2 separate regions of the Homo sapiens genome follow, and region 1 is linked to region 2. The links are contacts of gene promoters, found by promoter capture Hi-C in blood cells and fetal thymus (Javierre and others, 2016). All regions are on one chromosome and are shown on one strand. Each heading gives the region's core, a stretch centred on a gene start or on the middle of the fragment in contact. The rest is flanking DNA. Distances are from core to core; before and after follow the strand shown. Region 1 holds the start of ZBED6 (zinc finger BED-type containing 6). Region 2 holds the start of GOLT1A (golgi transport 1A).

The links. The method cuts DNA at HindIII sites, captures the fragments that hold promoters and counts their contacts. A CHiCAGO score of 5 or more calls a contact.
Region 1: the fragment with the promoter of ZBED6 here is called in contact with the fragment with the promoter of GOLT1A in region 2 in 2 of 17 cell types (fetal thymus and M2 macrophages); the score reaches 6.5 in fetal thymus.

Annotation. Positions count from the first base shown.
Region 1 is chr1:203,791,265-203,797,162 of GRCh38, reverse strand. It overlaps ZBED6 (zinc finger BED-type containing 6), which reads right to left and starts at 1,540. Exons shown (of 17, transcript NM_001395895.1): 1 at 1-1,540. ZC3H11A (zinc finger CCCH-type containing 11A) reads right to left here and starts at 1,540. Exons shown (of 18, transcript NM_001376342.1): 1 at 1,369-1,540. RefSeq lists an enhancer at 1,420-1,839. The HindIII fragment of the contact is 5,182 bases long and covers 436-5,617 here.
Region 2 is chr1:204,211,840-204,217,703 of GRCh38, reverse strand. GOLT1A (golgi transport 1A) reads left to right here and starts at 3,716. Exons shown (of 5, transcript NM_198447.2): 1 at 3,716-3,822. The coding sequence starts at 3,798. RefSeq lists an enhancer at 3,189-3,845. The HindIII fragment of the contact is 7,307 bases long and covers 3,347-5,864 here.

The DNA of each region.
Region 1 (5,898 bases), core at 291-2,790, 420 kb after region 2:
TCTTCCTGCTTCATCAAGAACTATATCTACTTGAAATGCCTTCACCTTGTAAAATACATATTTTTATGATGCCTCATGATAGCGACATCAATTTCCCTTAATTCTGAAATTAACTATTTTCAGGAAATCTCATTTAAACAAAAACATAGTGCATCATTCAACATTCATCATTTAGGACTGTGATTTGCCAATACAACCCAAAAAGTCAATTCTGGAAAGCCAACACAGACTCCGCATACTGGTCACAGCAAATGCTAGTTGAGCCCTTTCAGTTCTAACTAAAAGTAATACAACCTTTTAAAATGTGAGTGGCTGGAAAAAAATGCTTTGAGAAAAAAATTTTAAAACAAGGTTAAATGCTGCATTTTCAAAGTACTGTTTGTATTAAGAGTTAATTCAAGTTTAGTTTTCAGATATTTTTAGACTTGAGAAGCTTTTACAGCCTGTAAGTAACTCACAAGTTGTACGCTATAGAGATAGCAAAAAGTGAAATATGAACTTTAAACCACTTCCATTTTTCGATTGATCCCTCCCCTTCCCCCAATACCTACATACATTTACCCTAAAAAGCATCGCTATCTCTAGTTCCACAGCCTCTTTCTCAAGGTCCAGAACCAAGGCCTGGAAGATGTCAACAATATAGGCCTTCCCCATAGGAATCCGCACCGATTATGGGAGTTTAGGGGTGTTCTTCATTACGGTTTCACCAGTCCTACAAGGAGAACGGAAGTGTCCCTGTTGCTCTTGACTCCGACGCTGAGGGCCAGGGGTGGGAGTGTAATGAGAGTGGGGAATGGGTGTAGGATACCGGAATAAGGTCGGTGGCTTTCTGTATGTGGAGTTTGAGACAAGCTCCAAAGTACCGGGACCCTGGAGAGGAATGAGAGTAGGTAAATTCAGCGCCCGGCACTCAGTCTGATTGATTTAGGCAGTGAGGGTCCGCTCAACTAGAGAAACTGTTGCCCCGAAGAAAGCAATCTAGTGTCAGTTCTCTCTTCGGGATTCGGGGGAACAGTCGGTTTTCGGGGCTGCTCCGGGCTCCTCGAGATTAGCGAACACCGGATGTGGGGGAGGGGAGGAAGGTTGGCTGGGAAAGGAGCAGGCGCCGTGGGGGTGGGGTGAACGGGGTGGGGGTGGGGAGGATGGGAAAAGTGAGCGGGAGCCTGGGGCTCCCAGCCAGCCCCGGCGAGGGCCGCGACCGGGAGGTGGGGGGGAGGGGTCGTTACGGCGAAGCTGAAGGATCCGCTCTGACTTCCCGGGATAGGCCGCGACCCAGGGGCGAGGGGAGGCCGCTGCCACTCCCCTCGCCCTCTCCCCCACCTCCCCGGCCCCAAGCCACCCGGGAATCAAAAAAACGGGTCTAGTTACCAGAGAACAGAAACTTTACCGAACCGATGACACTATCCCCGACTCCCGCTTGCTGCCACGTCTTTCTTCTTGCTTGGCCGCTGCCGTCCGTCGTCCTCCCAGCAGCAGCAGCACTAGCAGAAAACCAAGACTGCCAGCGTCAAAGATGGCGCCTGGCTACAGGCTCCGCTCTAAGGCCCGGCCGGTAAAAGTGCCAGCACGACGCAGGGCGCGAGGATTCTGGAAGATGTAGTTCCTCTATGAGGCGATGCCTAAGATGGCTGCTCCGGGTCACAGGGTCACGTGACGGGGGAGGCGCTGGGTCGGGGAGTCCCTTCCCTTCAGAGGAATGCCTCGAAGCCGGCTTTCATAACGTTTTGTTTTTGTTTTTAAATCAAATGAGGTAATAAGCGGGAGGGCCGCAGGAACTGAGACTGCCATTCAGTAAGCGCTCAATTTATTCTTACCAAAGTGTTTGCTTAATGAGTAAATCTCCCAAACCATGTATACATTTAATTTAGAAATAAACTGTACTTTTCCTAAGCATGCAATGTAGAATGATTTGTTAGTTTATTTTTTACTTGAAGAAGTGAGATTGGGCTTTGGGGGGGTGTTTCTTTGATTTCTTAAAGCAAATTTGTGTATTGGAAAAGTAATTCATGCTCGTGACAAAATTCAGGAGAGTTAGTTGGAGGTCGCAATCAGCAGTCTCATCCCTGCTTCATTATTAACATTGTCCCTTATTTTCCCTTTTGAATGTTTTTACTTTTTCCCCCGGTTATAAAAGTAATACACGTGGCCGGTGCGGTGGCTCACGACTGTAATTCCAGCACTTTGGGAGGCCTCGGCAGGCGGATCACAAGGTCAAGAGATCGAGACCATCCTGGTCAACATGGTGAAACCTCATCTTTACCAAAAATACAAAAATTAGCTAGGCGTGGTGGCACGCGCCTGTAGTCCCAACTACTCGAGAGGCTGAGGCAGGAGAATCGCTTGAATCTGGGAGGCAGAGGTTGCATTGAGCTGACATCGCACCACTGCACTCCAACCTGGCGACAGAGTAAGACTCCATCTCAAAAAAAAAAAAAAAAAAAAAAAGTAAAAAACTTAATACACGTAAGTTTTTTTAGAAACAATACAGAAATATAGAGAGTAGAAAGTTAAAATCTCTATTAATCTCATTCTTGAGAAATAGCTCTCATTAACTTACCATATATCCTTTCTGGCTTTTACACTGAAAATATACTTAAATATATTACACATATAATAGGAGCCCAAGGTCCCCCTGGGGTAGTGGCTCAGCAGAACTCTAATTAGGTGGCAACATTTTACCTAACTTGGGTAAAGGATATAGTTGTGCTACTAAGAAAGGAAACACTTGATGATAAAGCAGATGGGACTTCAGGCACCTTTTATTTCCTCGTGTGCTTGTTCTTCCAGCTGCCGGGTTGGTGATGTGCGAGTCCCAGGCAGCCCAAGACTAGGAATTTATCAGAGCAGAGGGGTCCTGAGCCTCCTCATATCTGGGCTTTTATCTCCTTTCAAAGTAAGAACCACAACTTTAGAATCTTAGCTCCAATCTCTGCCTTACGTGACAGTGCTCTGGCATTGCCATGTCAACAGACCTAATAAGCAAGTTCCTGGTAGCCAATTTCTTTTTTTCTTTCTTTTTCTTTTTCTTTTGTTTTGGTCTTCATTTTTTTGGTCTGTGTGACTCTTACTGGTAACCAATTTCTGTCTGTGCCACGACACCTAGGGTTTTTAAAATTTACCAGAGGGCTCTCCACATAGCTTAAGGGTTTTCCAACCTAGGACTCTCCAAGATGCAGTCCTGGCCTGACTAGTGTGCTATATAGAGTTTATAGTTATATTTCAGTAAACCTAAAGTATCATTGATTGTAAGATACACTTTTATTTTACAAGCCTCTAAGTGGAAGAAAAAAACCAACAACTGCCAATTAAACTGACAGGCCGGCCGGGCAGGGTGGCTCACACCTCTAATCCCAGCACTTTGGGAGGTTGTGGCGGGCGAACCACAAGGTCAGGAGTTCGAGACTAGCCTGGCCAACATGGTGAAATCCTGCCTCTACTAAAAATACAAAAATTAGCCCAGCACAGTGGCACGCATCTGTAATCCCAGCTACTTGGAGGCTGAGGCAAGAGAATTGCTTGATCCTGGGAGGTGGAGGTTGCAGTGAGCCAAGATCACGCCATTGCACTCCAGCCTAGGTGACAGGCTAGGAAAGGATGTACATCTTAGAATGAATGAAAATATGAACAGGCTAAAACTATACATACCGTTTTGCAATTTGCTTTTTTCACTTTACAATATATCTTGAATATCTTTTAATGGTCATCAGCACTTAGAGGCCTACCATATTCTTTTTTTTTTTTTTTTTTTTGAGACAGAGTTTCACTCTTGTTTCCCAAGCTGGAGTGCAATGGCACAATCTCGGCTCAATGCAACCTCCGCCTTCCGGGTTCAAGCTATTCTTCTGCCTCAGCCTCCTGAGTAGCTGGGATTACAGGAATGCACCACCACGCCAGGCTAATTTTGTATTTTTAGTAGAGACGGGGTTTCTCCATGTTGGCCAGGCTGGTCTGGAACTCCTAACCTCAGGTAATCTGCCCACGTCGGCCTACATTCTTTTTAATAGCTCCCATCCCGCTCTCTGTAAGCCTCTTTTTACAATTTATTTCACCAGTCCCTTATTGATGGAAACAATCATGTTTCATTTTCCATTAGTATCTCTCAAGGGGGGGAAAGAAAAAATAATAGGGTAATAAGGACATTGAAGAGGGCAAGCTGGGCAGGGGCTCACGCCTGTAATCCCAGCACTTTGGGAGGCCCAGGCCAGCAGATCACTAGAGGTCAGGAGGTGAAGACCAGCCTGGCCAACGTGGCGAAAGCCTGTCTCTACTAAAAATACAAAATTAGCCGGGTGTGGTGGCACCCGCCTGTAATCCCAGCTACTCAGGAGTCTGAGGCAGGGAAGCACCTGAACCCAGGAGGCAGAGTTTGCAGTGAGCCAAGATTGCACCACTGCACTCCAACCTGGGCAACAGAGAGAGAACCTGTCTCACAGAAAAAAAAAAAAAAAAAGGCAGGAGAAAAAGCCTAAGGCTGTTGCAGAGAGAGAAAACTAGTTGGGAAACCCTCTAAGAGTCAGGAGAGTGCACATGCCAACCTTCCCCACCCCCCCATATATACACACAGAATTCTCAGGGGTGGGGCTGGGCTTGCCCTTTGTATGTTATAAGTGGGGGTGAAGTATCTAAACCAAGGACACAATGCCAGATTCCCCCTATTCATACTGCCCTTCAAATTCTAAATGGATTTTAAACATATCTAGACCTCTTCAGTGAATGACAAAACCTTTTGGGACGTTCAGTGTGTTTTTGCTTTGAGAGCAAAAGTTTGGGGAAAAAATGCAAAATTATTGAGACAAAATTAGGTTCAAGAGAATCTTTATTTAGACTAGAAAAGGAAATCACAACAAATTACACATTAAAAAAAAAAAAAAAACTGTGGCTGGGCACAGTGCCTCATGCCAGTAATCCCAGCACTATGGGAGGCCCAGGCCAGTGGATCACTTGAGCCCAGGAATTCAAGACCAGCCTGGGCAACATGGTAAAACCCCATGTCTACTAAAAATACAAAAATTAGCTGGATGTTGTGGCGTGCACCTGTAATCCCAGCTATTTGGGAGGCTGAGGCAGCAGAATCCCTTGAACCCGGGAGGTGGAGATTACAGTGAGCTGAGATTGTGTACCACTGCACTTCAGCCTGGGCGACAGAGTGAGACTCAGTCAAAAAAAAAAAAAAGAAAGAAAAAAAAATATATATGTATGATTATTGTCAAATTTGGTACAGCTTCTATCAAGTTTCTTAGATATATATAAGCACTAAGACTTTATTGAATTATTTAATACCCTCTTGGCCAGGCAAGAGCTACCATTTTTACTAAATCTATTATTTATTGCTATGTAAAAAATCACCCAAAAATGTAGTGGCTTAAGGAACAAACATTTGTTATTTCACGTGTCTGTGGGTCAGGAATTCAGAAGCAGTTTGGCTGGATGGTTCTGACTCAGAGTCTCTAATGAGTTTGCAATCAAGTTGGCCAGGACTGCAGTCATCTGAAGGCTTGACTGGGGCTAGAAGATACATTTCCAAGTCAACTCATATAGCTGTTAACAGGAGATGAGACCTCAGTTTCTCACTCTGAGGGCCTCTCCGTAGGGCTGCTCAGGATATAGGCAACAAGCTTCTCCCAGAGTGAATGACGAGAGAAATAGTAAAGATAGACACTATAAGCTGCAATGCCTTTTATGACCTAGCCTTGGGCATTACATACCACCATTTCTTCTGTATTCTATTGATCACACAGATTAACACTGGCATTATGTGGGAGGGGACTAAGCAAGGGCATGGTAACAGGAGCCAGGGATCATTGGGGTCTTTCTTGGAGGCTTGCTACCATGCCAGCTGTTAGTGATAACTGACTCGTCCATTTAAAATTTTAGATATGGCCAGGCACAGCGACTCAT
Region 2 (5,864 bases), core at 2,467-4,966:
TACCAGATCAAGCCAGGTTGGGATTTGTAAAAAGGGGGTAGTAGCTGAGAAATGTAAATGAAAATGCAATAGCAGAATGTCCTTTAAGGAGCAGAGCTGTGTAACTGCATGATCACTTATTTATTCTTGAAGACAGGCACGACAGGGTCAGGCAGGCAGCCAAGCCTCAGACCCTGCTGCTGCCAGGGAACTGGGGCCACGCCACGTCCCCCTCCTCATCCCGAGCCTCACCTCGTTACTGAGACCAATGAGAGAAGGTGGCATGTCATCCTCAACTCCTGCCCCTAGCAACATGCTCCTTGCTAGCTGCATGAAGATTTGGACAAGTCATTAAATTCTTGAGTCTCAGTTCCCTCATCTGGAAAATGGGTATATTAACCACCATCTTATGGAACTTTCAAGAAAGACAAATGAGAAAATGGATGAAAATCACTTTGAAAACTCAAATTCACTTCCAAATGTGAGGAAGTGGAAGTGGTGATGTTGCAAAGGCTCCCTGGCCACCTGCAGGGGCCTGATGTGGGAAGAGGGAGAAGGTTTTCCAGGACCCCTCCTTTACTAGCTCTACAGCCTTTGCTGGAAGACATCACCAGGGCCCGTGCCATCCCTGAGGTGTCCCTCCCCTGCCACTTCTATGCCTCCAGCCCAGGGAGTAACTGCACTACCCCACACTTTTCTCATCATGGCAGGGTCATGAGACTGCCATGGGTCGAGGACTAGCACCAGCCTTCCCGGCGTTGTCCCTATGAAGGTCCCTCTCCAGAAGGATGAGTTGTGGACAGCGCCTCTGGGCTTAGCTCCAGTACCCAGAGAATCAGGCCCGGAGGGCCCAGTATCATGAGCGTTTAATTCTCCTGAGCTCACAGGTGGGTTCCATGGCTGGGGGTGGGGGCAGGAAGGGGCATCCCCAGTTGCTATTTTATACACCTGCGGGAGTGGTTTAGCACCACAATTTGAGATGACAGTAGAAGTCTTTCATATAAAGCATATTAACAGTATACTAATAATAACATTAATAACAATAGTAATTATTATAACTATACAGTAACAGGAATAACAGTGGTTCATTAAGTGCTTACTATGTGCCAGGTACCTGGTTCTATGCACTTCACATGCATTTACTCATGAATCCTCATCCTCTATGTCAGTCATAGGTACTATAATTATCCAAGAAGCTGAGGCACAGAAAGGATAAATAAAATGCCCAAGGCTTCACGAAGCCAGGATGAAGCTCTTAACCTACGAGTGATTTCAACAGGGATGATTCTGGCCCCTAGGGGCATTTGGTTGTCTCAATCATAAGGGTGCAAAACTCTTGCTGGCATTTCGAGACTGCAATGCACAGGACAGATTTCCAAAACAAAGAATTGTCCCATATCCTGTACTACTTTCGAATGTACAACTGAACTAAACCCACTACCAGTAAAAGTTGGTCATACTTCAATTGACAGTAATACCAAAAGGTTTTGTAAGCTTTTAAAAATAAATTTCATGAACACTCAGAAAGTTAGGAGATGGTTATTATGGAGCAGAAGCTTAAAAGGAATAAAGACATTGTCTTAAAATTATTGAATAATCTACTCCATGCATTGTCTACACAAAGGATTATAAGATTTCAGCTACTATGTATTTGATTGAAAACAGTTCTGATCAGTAGGTGATACTGAATAAACGAAGAAATTGACTGAAAATATTTAACAGAGGATATGTGAGAGAAGCAAACATGGAATCAGAGACACTTGAGATGCAGAAGATCTCACTGAGTTTCCTTAATAAAAGTTTTTAGGGTTTATTTCATATTATTGCCATCCTTTATATGTTTAGTTTTTTTGGAGCCCAAGGATGCTATGTTGTCATAATTATGTGTGGAAATGTTGTGTCCTGTCTTTACAACACTGTCCCGGGTGTCCACATGCAATTGCTCTAAACCACTTTTATCTTCTTTTCTTTTCCCAATCCATCCTCTATCCCCCATTGCCCATTGGAAATATGTGATCTCTAAGGCCTTTTAAGATCCCAGAGACTGAATTTTACCTCAACGCTGATATGTTTCAAGACAGAGGTTGATGTGTCTGTGGTACTCTATGGCGACCCCATTCCATGGGAGCTATTTTGACAATACACACATACCTAAGACTGAGTTCCTTTGCATGCACATCATACTTCTATATTATCTCCACCTTGTGCTCTCTAATTTGCCTTGCTATGTTATCCCTATTTCAATTAAGATGCTTTCCCTCTCATCATATGCAAGTACGTCTGGTCTGTTATTCCTTATCTAACAGTTTTTATTCTATGTTCACTTCCTGCTACTCTTTCATTTTCTTGCATGTGTGTGATTTTTGTTTTTGCATAGAATGGCTCATCTTCTATTTCTCTTAAATTCAAACATATATTATGTGTGGGTGCAAGCAATCTGCCTATTTCATTTATGTCTTCTGGTAAGTCTTGCCTGAACATTTATATATTGAAAGACATCATGTTTTATTATAATTTATCTTTTTGTTTCTTTTTAAAAAATTATGTTAGCTTTCCTTGGTTTTGTTGTTGTTGTTTGGTTTGTTTTTTTTTGAGACAGGATCTCGCTCTGCTACCCAGGCTGGAGTGCATGGCTTGATCACAGCTCATCGCAGCCTCGACCTTCTGGGCTCAAGCAATCCTCCTACCTTAGCCTCCCCAGTAGCTGGGACTACAGGCAGGTACCACCACATCCGGCTAATTTTTTATTTTTATTATTGTAGAGACAAGGTCTCACTATGTTGCTCAGGCTGGTCTCAAACTCCTGGGCTCAAGCAATCCTCCTGCCTTGGCCTCCCAAAATGCTGGGATTACAGACATAATGCATTTTGTATGCCAGGCCTATTTGCATTTTTAAATGATGTATATAGGTAGTCTTTGAAATTCATTTCTTCATTTCTGGACACAGAAGACATTGCAAAGTGGATGTTGGCTCTCCTGGCATCAATGCCACGTCAGAACCACTGCTCTGCGATGGGAAAAAAGGATGTTAGGAACTAACTGCCTCTCTTTTTGCAGGCCCAAAGGACGAATCCATGTCTACACAGCTGGTGGGTAGACTAGAACCAGGCCTCCTAAATTGTGCAGTCCTGCCCCAACCCCAAATTCAGGGCTTTGTCTTCCATAGCTCAACATCACAGTCAGTCCAAAGCTTGGACGCCGCTTGGGGAAAGGAGGTCGAAGACCTTCACGTCTAACTTCCCCCATGGCGCTTTTGCCATTGATTTAACCCGATCTGGCTCTGCCATTAGGTCAACAACAGGCTTTGTGCTCAGTCGCTCATCGCCTCCCAGCGCCTAGCATGTGCAATAGCAGAGAGCAAAAAGCTTGACTTTCAAGATGAATTTAGTACATTCCCAAAGGGATGCGCAGATGCCAACTCTTCCCACACTATCAAACCAAGCAAGAAACTTGAGCACCCCCTAGATTCCAATGCTTCCACATACAATCTAAGTTTCGCGGAGCAGACGAGAGCCGCAGAACACCGCGAGGTGCGAGGAAAGGGTCAGGTGGGCGGTGCCTTCCCCGGGCAGGCGCGGCAGGTGGAGGGGCGGGGCATTGCCCTACCGGAAAACGGGAGGAGGGAGCTGGCGAGTAGAAGCACCTGCGTGGTGTGCGGGGGTGGAGCGGGGGCTGGAGGGAGAGTTAATGATTTGCCACAGGCTCATTTCGCAACTTAACCAAGGGTCAGCTTCCCGTGACCATGTACCAGCTGCGTCCTCTGGGCCACGCTCCACTTGCCCGCTTCCACCCGGAAAGCCCCCCAGGCTGAGTGCGGCATGATCTCCATCACCGAATGGCAGAGTAAGTGGGATGAGCGGGGCTGCAATGGGCTATCCAGGCCAGGCTCCCTGCCGGCTGGCTCTCTCTCCCAGCTGGGCTCTCTGTCACTACAAGCGTGACCTCTGGAGCCAGGGGCTGGGAGATGCTGTGCTGGCACCCTGGGGCAGCAGGCAGGGTGGGGTGTGGCTCCCTACCCTCCAGCGGGTGGGAGTTGCTCAGGGCCCACAGGTAGCTAGAGGCTGGTGCCCAGGGGGCCTGGCAGGTTCCCCATTCACACTGACCCCTTTCCCATCCCGGGTTCTTAGAACTGGGTTGCCACAAAGGTGGACTCAGGAGGCCTCTGCCCATTCAGACATCTTTCCCCACACCATCAAGGTCTCCTGTGGCCCTGGGGGCTTCTTATAAAAAACTAAACTCCACTCCCCTGACCAAACCACCATACCCTCACTCCTAAACATCCTTCCCCTTCTTTTGGGGGAAGAGGTAGGGAGGAGGTCTTGGAACAAGTCTGGGGCCATGGGAAGAACCGTGGCTCTGTGGGCTTCATTTGGGTGAGTTACTTAAAGCCTCTGAGCCTTGGTTTTTCATCTGAGAATTGGTGACAACATTCTTTTGTTCACTCAACAGATTTGTCTCTGCTGTGTGCCAAGCACTGTGTTGGATATAGAGTGTCCAACATTAAATGAAACTGACTCCCTGCTTACATTCTAGAGAGGGGAGACAGGTAATTAACAGAAAGAAGTATATAGTATATCAGAAGATGATAAGTCCTCCAGATGAAAATAAAACAAGAGGAGGCTATGGAGTTCGAGGTAGGAGGGGTCGCTATTTTATATAGAGTGGTCAGGGAAGCCTCACTGAGAAGGTGAGCCTTTATTCAGATCTTTTTTCAGAGATCTATAGGAAGTGAGGAAGCAAAGCCACGCAGCTCTCTGGAGGGGAAATGTTCAGGAAGCAGGGACAGGCAGTGCAAAGGCCCTGAGGCATTAGCATACTTGGTGTGTTTGAAGAACAACAAGGAGGTGGGTATACCTGGAGCAAAGTGAGGTGAGGGGAGAATCATAGGAGTTTAGGTCAGGGATGTCACTGAGGGGTCAGGACACTGGAGACTTATAGACCATGGTAATGACCTTGGTTTTGTGCTATGGTGTGATATGTTCTATTTCTATGTTTAAAAGATCATTCTGGGTGCTGGGTTGAGAATAGACTGTGGAGGTATGAAGGCAGCAGCAGGGAAGCCAGTTCTTTTTTTTTTTTTTTTTTTTTGAGACAGAGTCTCACTCTGTCGCTCAGGTTGGAGTACAGTGGCATGATCTCTGCTCACTGCAACCTCCACCTCCTGGGTTCAAGCGATTCTCCTGCCTCAGCCTCCTAAGTAGCTGGGGTTACGGGCACCCACCACCACACCTGGCTAATTTTTGTATTTTTAGTAGAGATGGGGTTTCTCCACGTTTACCAGGTTGGTCTCGAACTCCTGACTTCTCAAGTGATCCACCTGCCTGAGCCTCCCAAAGTGCTGGGATTACAGGCGTGAGCCACCGCGCCCAGCCAGGGAAGCCAGTCCTGAGTGTGTGAAGGTGGAGACCAAGGTGTTAGCAGGAGATTAGCGGGGCGTGGTCCATGCTGGATCTGCCTTGAGGAAAGCGTTGAGGATTTGCTGACGGTTTGGACATAGGGTGTGAGAGAAAGAGGAGTCAAGAATGCCTTGTATATTTTTTAGCCTGTGCAATGGGAAGGGTTGAGTGGGGGGAAGCAGGAATTGGGCTTTAGATGTGTTGAGTCTGTTTGTGCTGTTAGACATCCGGGTGAGATGTCAGGTAGGTGGTTGGGTATGTGAGTCTGGAGTTCCAGGTAGAGGCCTGGGCTGGAGACAGAAATGTGGGAATAATCTGCATATACATGGTTTTTAGGACTATGAGCATCCATGAGATCACCGAGGGCAGGCACAGTTTCTCACCTCCCCACTATTGACATTTTGGGGCAGGATAATTCTTTGTTGTGGGGGCCTGTCCTGTACATTATAGGATATCAGCAGCATCCCTGGCCTCTATCCACTACATGCC